Linked DNA regions of Homo sapiens: region 1 is linked to region 2. Evidence: promoter capture Hi-C in human tissues and cell types (Jung and others, 2019). All regions are on one chromosome and are shown on one strand. The core of a region is centred on a gene start or on the middle of the fragment in contact, and the rest is flanking DNA. Distances in the headings are between cores, read along the strand shown.

The links. Contacts are between HindIII fragments. The study calls those that stand out against the background at their distance.
Region 1: the fragment with the promoter of SEZ6L2 here is called in contact with a fragment that was not itself captured in region 2 in 1 of the 25 tissues and cell types used here (lymphoblastoid cells).

What each region holds. Positions count from the first base shown.
Region 1 is chr16:29,897,814-29,901,902 of GRCh38, forward strand. It overlaps SEZ6L2 (seizure related 6 homolog like 2), which reads right to left and starts at 1,737. Exons shown (of 18, transcript NM_001243332.2): 1 at 1,128-1,737; 2 at 40-171. The coding sequence starts at 1,206. It overlaps ASPHD1 (aspartate beta-hydroxylase domain containing 1), which reads left to right and starts at 2,675. Exons shown (of 3, transcript NM_181718.4): 1 at 2,675-4,089. The coding sequence starts at 3,159. RefSeq lists enhancers at 1,635-1,929, 3,696-4,089 and a silencer at 2,293-2,722. The HindIII fragment of the contact is 10,220 bases long and covers 1-4,089 here.
Region 2 is chr16:29,017,075-29,021,283 of GRCh38, forward strand. No RefSeq gene overlaps it. Among named protein-coding and RNA genes, the nearest start is that of LAT, 34 kb to the left of the region's middle. The HindIII fragment of the contact is 6,519 bases long and covers 1-4,209 here.

The DNA of each region.
Region 1 (4,089 bases), core at 487-2,986, 880 kb after region 2:
TCTGCCTCTAGGCCACTCCTGCCACTCTGGGGGCCTCACCTGGCAGGTAGCCCATCTCTGGGCCCCTCCTCAGCAGGGCCCCATGAAGCAGTTCAGCCAGGGCCTCAGAGGCCACCGTGGGGGTCTCACTTCCAGGCTCTGGCAATATCTCCTCCTCCTTCAGGGGCAGACCTAGGAGGTGAAGTTGTGTGAGCTTCTCCACTTCCCCACACCCCTTCCTTCTCCAGAGAGATATTTTCTAGAACTCTTCCTCCCTCCTCCATCAGCTGGGCCTGCAGGGGCTCAGATGGTCCCAGGCTCGACTGAGGGCCAAGATCGGAGGAGGGGCTCCCAGCTGCCCTCATACTCCCACTCCCACACCTCTTCTCTCCCCTCCCCTCTCCCTTCTCCCTGGGCTGTGTGGGCCTTCATTGAACACCTTAGCTCTTATGGACCCTGGACAGCGCCAGCAAGGCAGAGGGGTCGCCGGTGCTGCCTTCCCTTTCACCTCAGTGGTGATCTCCCCCCAACCCTGGGGCTCTGCAGAGGATCTGGCCGCACCTCCCAGCCCTTGCTTCCGCAGTGCCTGGCTTTCTCTCTGGGTTTCTGTCTCTGCAGTGTGGCTGTCTTTTCTCTCTCTCTCTCTCTCTCTCTCCCCCCCACCCTCTCTCTCTCTGGTCCTCTGCAGTCTCTGCCTCCTTCCCTGGAGTCTGGCTGGGGGTCAGAGTGGGGGACTGAAAATCTGGTCTTTGAGCCCTGCCTCTGCTCATCTGTCTTTGTCCATTCATCCAAGAACAGTTGTGTGTACAGCGCCTGGCATCTCTCTCAGCACCTCCATCTCCCACCCAGGTCCCTCCATGCTTCTGCCGCCTCCGCAGACATCCCCCCAACTTTCCCAGCCCTCCTTCTTGGATCTAGCCCCTGAGACACTGCTAAAAGCTTCTCTCATTCATTTCTCTGCCTTCTCAATATTGAGGGTTAAGGGGCTTCGGGTTCAAGCCTGAAAGCTCTGGCTTGCCCCTTCCCCATCAGCTGTGCCTCTCCCCTCCCCCATGTGCTCGGAAGACCCAGGATATTAAGAGAAAGGAGGGTGGAGGACCCCGCTGGACGCCTTCCTGGGGCCCACCCCCACAGTCTCATGTCCTTACCCTGGATCCAGGGACAGCTCAGCAGAATTAGGAACAGCAGCTGGGGAGGCGGCGGGTGCTGGGCCCTGGGAGTCCCCATGGCGACTCACCCCGATCTCTCTCCTCTGTGCCTCTCTAAGTAATCTGGCTGCCACCTTTCCTCCGTCTCCGTTTATCTTTCCCTTTAATTGTTTTTTTTTTTTTTTTTTTTTTCCTCGTAGGAGTCAGCAAAGAAAGACAATTTCTCTGCCCCTTGGGATGGAGGGGCAGAATTGGGCTAGGGGTCGCCTGGAGCCCACCCCCCTTTGCTCAGTCTCCTCTGTCCTCTTCTCGCGGCTCTGTGGTGGAGGGGGCGCGGCTCCGGCTGCAGGGGGTGGGGCCGAGAGGGCCGAAGGGGCCGGGTGGCCTGGGTTACCCTCCTGCTCAGGCGCCTGGGTCCACTGGGCTGTCTGGACCCCAAGCTAGGGGACTGGGGAGGAGAAAGACAGCTTCTGGGGGTTTAGGGTGGGGTCGAGGATCGAGGGGGTCTCCACTGGGCTCTAGCGGGGCTTGTCGGGGAGGGGAAGGGGTGGGTTGGGGAACTGGGAGAGCCGAAGCTCGGGCACTGGAGCTGCGGGAGGGAGAAGCTGAGAAAGGTATCGAGCCCACGTCAGATCCTGGGGACGGGCGGAGGGAGGGGCCTGGGATTTATTTGACGGGGAGGGAGGAGGAGGAAGTGCAGATGGAGGAGGGAGGGATCATACGAGCCAGGGCCGTAATCCTCACTCCCGCGGCCCCTAGGGGAGGCAAAGGAAACTCTCTGGTCCCAGCAGTAATTAGCCCCCTCCGCCTGCCATTCCAGCACATCTGGAATCTGAATCTCCTCTTCCCAGGGTGCCGAGGGGCTGCATAGCTTGGTTCGCGCCTGCTAGGCCCCCAATTATGCCCCCTGTTCACATTCAGACCTCCCAAGGGGCTTCCCTTCCCCTTTTACAGTAGCTCGGGTGGAATGGGCTCTCCCTCCTCCAGGGGAATAGAGAGCTTCCACGATTGTGACAAGTCTCGTGGGTGACGGGCCGGGGTTTGGGGAGGAGAGACAGACCCCTCCTCTTCCATAAACCCTGACCCCGGCCAGCTAACAGGCGGCCTCGGCTCTGATTTTCCCTCCGGAGCGCCCTTTTCAGCACCAGCGGCGCGCGGACAGCTCCCCTCGCCCCGCCGGGGCGGGCCCGGCCCGACGCCGCCCGCGATTGGCTGAGGCCGCTTTCGGTGTTTGCCAGGCTCGCGGGCTCCCGGGCTGCCTAGGGCCAGCGGGAGTCACAGGCCGACCGACCGACGGACCAGCCGCCCGACGGACTGGCCTCAGCATCCTTGCCCGCAGTCCCGGGCGCCTGCCCAGCCGTCAGTCCGCGCTCGCCCCGCCCCTCAGGCCCCGCCCCTCAGGCCCCGCCCGATACGACCCGCCCCTTCTTTCGCATTGCGGGACGGCTGGAGGCTGGCACCGTGGCCCCTGCGCCCCACGTGGCGCCCTTTCCGGGCGGGGGGGGTGGGGAGGCACCTCCAGCGACAACTCTCCCCCCTCCCCCGGCACCCGGCTGATTTGCTGTGCCACTGGGAGGGTTCGGGGGTGGCTGAGCTGAGAGGGCTCCGGGAAGGAGTGACGTCAGGGTGAGTGGGAGCCCAGGAAGGAGCGAGTAGGAGAGAGGGAGCGAGAGCCAGGCAGGACCGCAGGGTCGGGGCTAGTGAGGAGCGAGGGCAAGGAGAGAGCAGTGAGGCCGGAGAGAAAGAAGCTGCCGCGGAGGAAGACAGGCTGCGGGTTCCCGGGACTGCAGGTCCAGGCAGGGTAGGAACCGCTGCCCAGGGGAGCTAGGAGGAAGCGGGGAGAGAGAGCGAGCGAAAAGCGGGGGTGGGGAGGAAAGGGGGAGATTGAGGTGGGAGAGAGAAGCAGAGCGAGAGAGAGGAGGCTGCTGGAAGGAGAAAGAAGAGGGTGAGGAGGCGACAGAGGGAGAGGAGGAAGAAGAGGTAGAAGGAGAGAGAAAGGGGAGAGAAAGGAGAGAGGAGGGTTGGAGGTGCATGAAGGAGGGGAGAGGGAGCTTCAGCGTGGAGAGAGGACCGCGGAAGGAGAGAGAGACAGCCCAGAGTGGAATGTGGAAGGGAAACAGTCCAGCGGGGAGCCAGGGGGCAGCCATGGAAGGGACAGGTGGGGAGCTGGGGGGACAGGGGAACTGGGGTCCGGAGGACGCCCCAGGCCTCTTGGCCAGGGCCTCCCTGATCATGCTCCCGTGGCCACTACCCCTGGCCTCCTCGGCCCTCACCTTGCTCTTCGGGGCCCTCACTTCCCTGTTCCTCTGGTACTGCTACCGCCTGGGCTCCCAAGACATGCAGGCCCTAGGGGCTGGGAGCCGAGCTGGGGGTGTTCGTGGTGGGCCTGTGGGATGCTCGGAGGCCGGCGGGCCAAGCCCAGGGGGTCCTGGGGATCCCGGGGAAGGACCTAGGACGGAAGGCCTAGTGAGCCGGCGGCTTCGGGCCTACGCAAGGCGCTACTCCTGGGCTGGGATGGGTAGAGTGAGGCGGGCAGCTCAGGGTGGCCCAGGCCCTGGGAGAGGGCCAGGGGTCCTAGGTATTCAGCGCCCAGGCCTGCTTTTCCTACCAGACCTGCCTTCAGCCCCCTTTGTGCCGCGGGACGCCCAGCGGCACGACGTGGAGCTCCTGGAGAGCAGCTTCCCTGCCATTTTGCGGGACTTCGGGGCTGTGAGCTGGGACTTCTCAGGGACTACCCCTCCGCCTCGGGGCTGGTCCCCACCTCTGGCCCCCGGGTGCTACCAGCTCCTGCTGTACCAAGCAGGCCGGTGCCAACCCAGCAACTGCCGCCGGTGCCCGGGGGCCTATCGGGCACTGAGGGGGCTTCGAAGCTTTATGAGTGCCAACACCTTCGGCAATGCCGGCTTTTCCGTTCTCCTGCCTGGGGCCCGGCTCGAGGGCCGCTGTGGGCCCACCAATGCCC
Region 2 (4,209 bases), core at 1,203-3,702:
CTGGGATTACAGGCGTGAGCCACCACGCCCGGCTGATGCACAGAGGTTTTTAATTTTGATGTAGTCCTATTTTACCTTTTTTTTGATGTTATTGTTGCCTGTGCCTTTCTTTTCTTTCTTTCTTTCTTTTTTTTTTTGAGACAGAGTTTCACTCTTGTTGCCCAGGTTGGATTGCAGTGGCACGATCTTGGCTCACTGCAACCTCCACCTCCTGGGTTCAAGTGATCCTTCTGCCTCAGCCTCCTGAGTATGTGGGATTACAGGCATGTGCCACCACGCTCAGCTAATTTTTGTATTTTTAGTACAGACAGGGTTTTGCCATGTTGGCCAGGCTGGTCTTGAACTCCTCACCTCAAGTGATCTGCCCACCTCGGCTCCTAAAGTGCTGGGAATACAGGCATGAGCCACCGTGCCTGGCTGCCTGTGCCTTTCTTGGTGTCATATCTAATAAATCATTGTCAAGTTCAGTGACATGAAGCTTTTTCCCTATATTTTTTTTCTAGGCGTTTTATAGTTTTAGGCCTTATATTTAAGTCTTTAAATTTTGAATTAATTTTTGTATATGGCCAGGCATGGTGGCTCATGCCTGTAATCTCAGTACTTTGGGAGGCCAAGGCGGGCAGATCACCGAGGTCGGGAGTTCGAGACCGGCCTGACCAACATGGAGAAACCCCGTCTCTACTAAAAATACAAAATTAGCCAGGCTTGGTGGTGCGCTCCTGTAATCCCAGCTGCTCAGGAGGCTGAGGCAGGAGCATCCTGGAGCCCTGGAGGTGGAGGTTGTGGTGAGCCGAGGTCGCGCCATCGCACTCCAGCCTGGGCGACAAGAGCAAAATTCCGTCTCAAAAAAATTTTTTTGTGTGTGTGTACGGTGTATGATAAGGGTCTAACTGCATTATTTGTATGTGAATAGCCAGTTTTCCCAACACCATTTGTTGAAGATACTGCTTTTTCTGCCACTGAATGGTCTTGGCACCCTTGCCAAAGATTATTTAACCATTAATGTGAGGGTGGGCCAGGCATGGTGCCTCACGCCTGTAATCCCAGCACTTTGGGAGGCAGAGGTGAGAGGATCCTTTGAGGCCAGGAGTTTGAGACCAGCCTGGGCAATGTAGTGAAACTAGGTCTCTGCCAAAAAAAAAAAAAAAAATAGCCAGACATGGTGACACCCACATCTAGTCTCAGGTACTTGGGAGACTGAGGTGGGAGGATAGCTTGATCACAGGAGTTTGAAGTTTCAGTGAGCTACAATCATACCACTGTGTGCCAGCCTGGGCAACAGAGTGAGATCTTGTAACAAAAATAATAATAATAATAATAATAATAATAATAATAATAATAATAATAAATGTAAGGATGTATTTCCGGGCTCTCTATTCCATTAGTCTATATCTCTGTCTTTATGCCAAGTACCACATTGTTTTGATTACTGTAGCTTTGTAACACATATTGAAATCAGGAAGTAGTCTTCTTACTTCTTAAGATTTTTTAAACTTAATTTTTATTTTTTGAGACAGGGTCTCACCCTGTCACCCAGGCTAGAGTGCAGTGGTGGGTCCAGGCAATTCTCCTGCCTCAGCCTCCTGAGTACCTGGGACTACAGGTGCTCGCCACCACGCCTGGCTAATTTTTGTATTTTTAGTAGTGACGGGGTTTCACCACGTTAGCCAGGCTAGTCTCAAACTCCTGACCTCAAGTGATCCACAAGCCTTGGCCTCCCTAAGTGCTGGGGTTATAGGCATGAGCCACCTCACCTGGCCTACGATTTATTTATTTATTTATTTATTTTATTTTATTTTTATTTTTTGACACAAAGTCCCTCTCTTGTCCCCCAGGCTGGAGTGTGATGGCATGATCTCGGCTCGCTGCAACCTCTGCCTCCCAGGTTCAAGTGATTCTCCTGCCTCAGCCCCCTGAGTATCTGGGATTAAAGGCACCTGCCACCACGCCCGGCTAACTTTTGTAGTTTTCGTAGAGACAGAGTTTTACCATGTTGGCCAGGCTGTTCTAGAACTCCTGACCTCAGATGATCCACCCTCCTCAGCTTCCCAAAGTGCTGGGATTACAGGTGTGAGCCAATGTGCCCGGCCTTTTTAATTTTTTTTTTTAATTTGGTGTGATATCAGTTAGAATTAAAAAATTTTTTAATTAATATTATTTTGATTGACAAATCATAGTTGTTTACATTTATGAGATACAAGGTGATTTTTAAATTTTTTTTTTATAGAGATGAGATCTAGCTATGTTACCCAGGCTGGTCTCAAACTCCTGGCCTCAAGTTATCCACCCGGCTCCACTTCTCAAAGTGCTGGGATTACAGGCATGAGCCACTGTGCCCAGCTACACACACACACACACACACACACACACACACACACACACACACATATATATAGATATATATATTTTAATAGGCAGTACTCTGTAATCCCAGCTACTCGGTAGGCTAAGGCAGAAGGATACCTTCAGCCCAGGAGTTTGAGACCAGCCTAAAAAAAAAGAAAAGGAAAAGGCAGTATATTCCTGTGGTTCAAAATTCCAAAGGTACTAAAGATTTTAACAGAAAAATCTCTCTCCCACCTGTTCCCTAACCACCAAATTCCTGTCCAAAGTCACAGTCATTCTTATCAGTTACCCAAAGATTTTCCACACTTCTATAAGCAAATGCACGTTTAAGCAAATTTGCAGCCACTTCGTTTTTATATAAATGGTATAATTCCACGCACTGTTTGTATTTTGCTTTTTCGTGTAATGCCGTATCTTGGAGGTTTGACATCATTACCCTAAAACTTACAACCTTGTGCATTGTTTTTTTTTTGTTTGTTTGTTTGTTTGTTTTTGAGACAGAGTCTTGCTCTGTCACCCAGGCTGGAGTGCATTGGCACAATCTTGGCTCACTGCAACCTCTGCCTCCCGGGTTCAAACCATTCTCCTGCCTCAGCCTTCTGAGTAACTGGGATTACAGGTGCCTGCCACCACACCCGGCTAATTTTTGTATTTTTAGTAGAGATGGGGTTTTGCTATGTTGGCCAGGCTGGTCTCGAACTCCGTTTCACTCTGTTGCCCAGGCTGGAGTGCAGTGGCACGATCTTGGCCCACTACAACCTCCACTGCGGGCTCAGGTGATCCTCCCACCTTAGCTTCTTGAGTAGCTGGGATTACAGGCGCCTGCCACCATGCCCGGCTAATTTTTGTATCTTTTGTAGAGGCAGGAGTCTCACCATGTTTCTCAGGCTGGTCTCGAACCTCTGAGCTCAAGCCATCCTCCTGCCTCAGCCTTCCAAAGTGCTGGGATTACAGGTGTTAGACATCACACCCGGCCAGTGCATTCTTTTTCTATTGTTTGAGATGGAGTCTCACTCTGTTGCCCAGGCTGGAGTGCAGTGGCAGTGATCTTGGCTCACTGCAATCTCCACCTCTCAGGTTCAAGAGATTTTCTTGCCTCAGCCTCCCAAGTAGCTCGGATGACAGGCACGTGCCACCATGCCCAGCTAATTTTTGTATTTTTTAGTAGAGACGGGACTTCACCATATTGGACAGGTTGGTCTCGAACTCCTGACCTCGTGATCCGCCCGCCTTGGCCTCCCAAAGTGCTGGGATTACAGGCAGGACCACCGTGCCCGGCCCAGTGCATTCTTTTTTAATAGCTGCATGGTTATGCTGTTGTGTGGATGGACTTTAAATAGCTACCTCATGATGGACATTTAGATTGTTTTAATAGTTTACCCCCCAGAAGCTGCAATGAATAATCTTATGTGTAAGTCATTTAGCCCGCGTGGGAGGACTTCTGTATAATGAATCCCTTGAAGAAGAGTCGTTTGGTCAAAGTGAATATGCATGTGTGATTTTGCTAGATACTGCCAAATTCCCCTTCGGGGGAAGGGATTAGTTGACACTCCCACAAGAGGTGGCCCACAGTAGCTGTTTCCCCACACCCTTGCCAGCTCAGAGTGCTATCAAACTCCTTAATCTTTTGCCAAACTGTTAGGTAAAGATGAGTCTTTTTTTATTTAAACAGAGTCTTGCTCTGTCGCCCAGGCTGGAGTGCAGTGGCACGATCTCGGCTCGCTGCAACCTCCATCTCCTGGGTTCAAGCAATTCTCCTGCCTCAGCCTCCCAAGTAGCTGGGATTACAGGTGTGTGCCTCCACACCCAGCTAATTTTTGTATTTTTAGTAGAGATGGGGTTTTGTCCTGTTGGCCAGGCTGG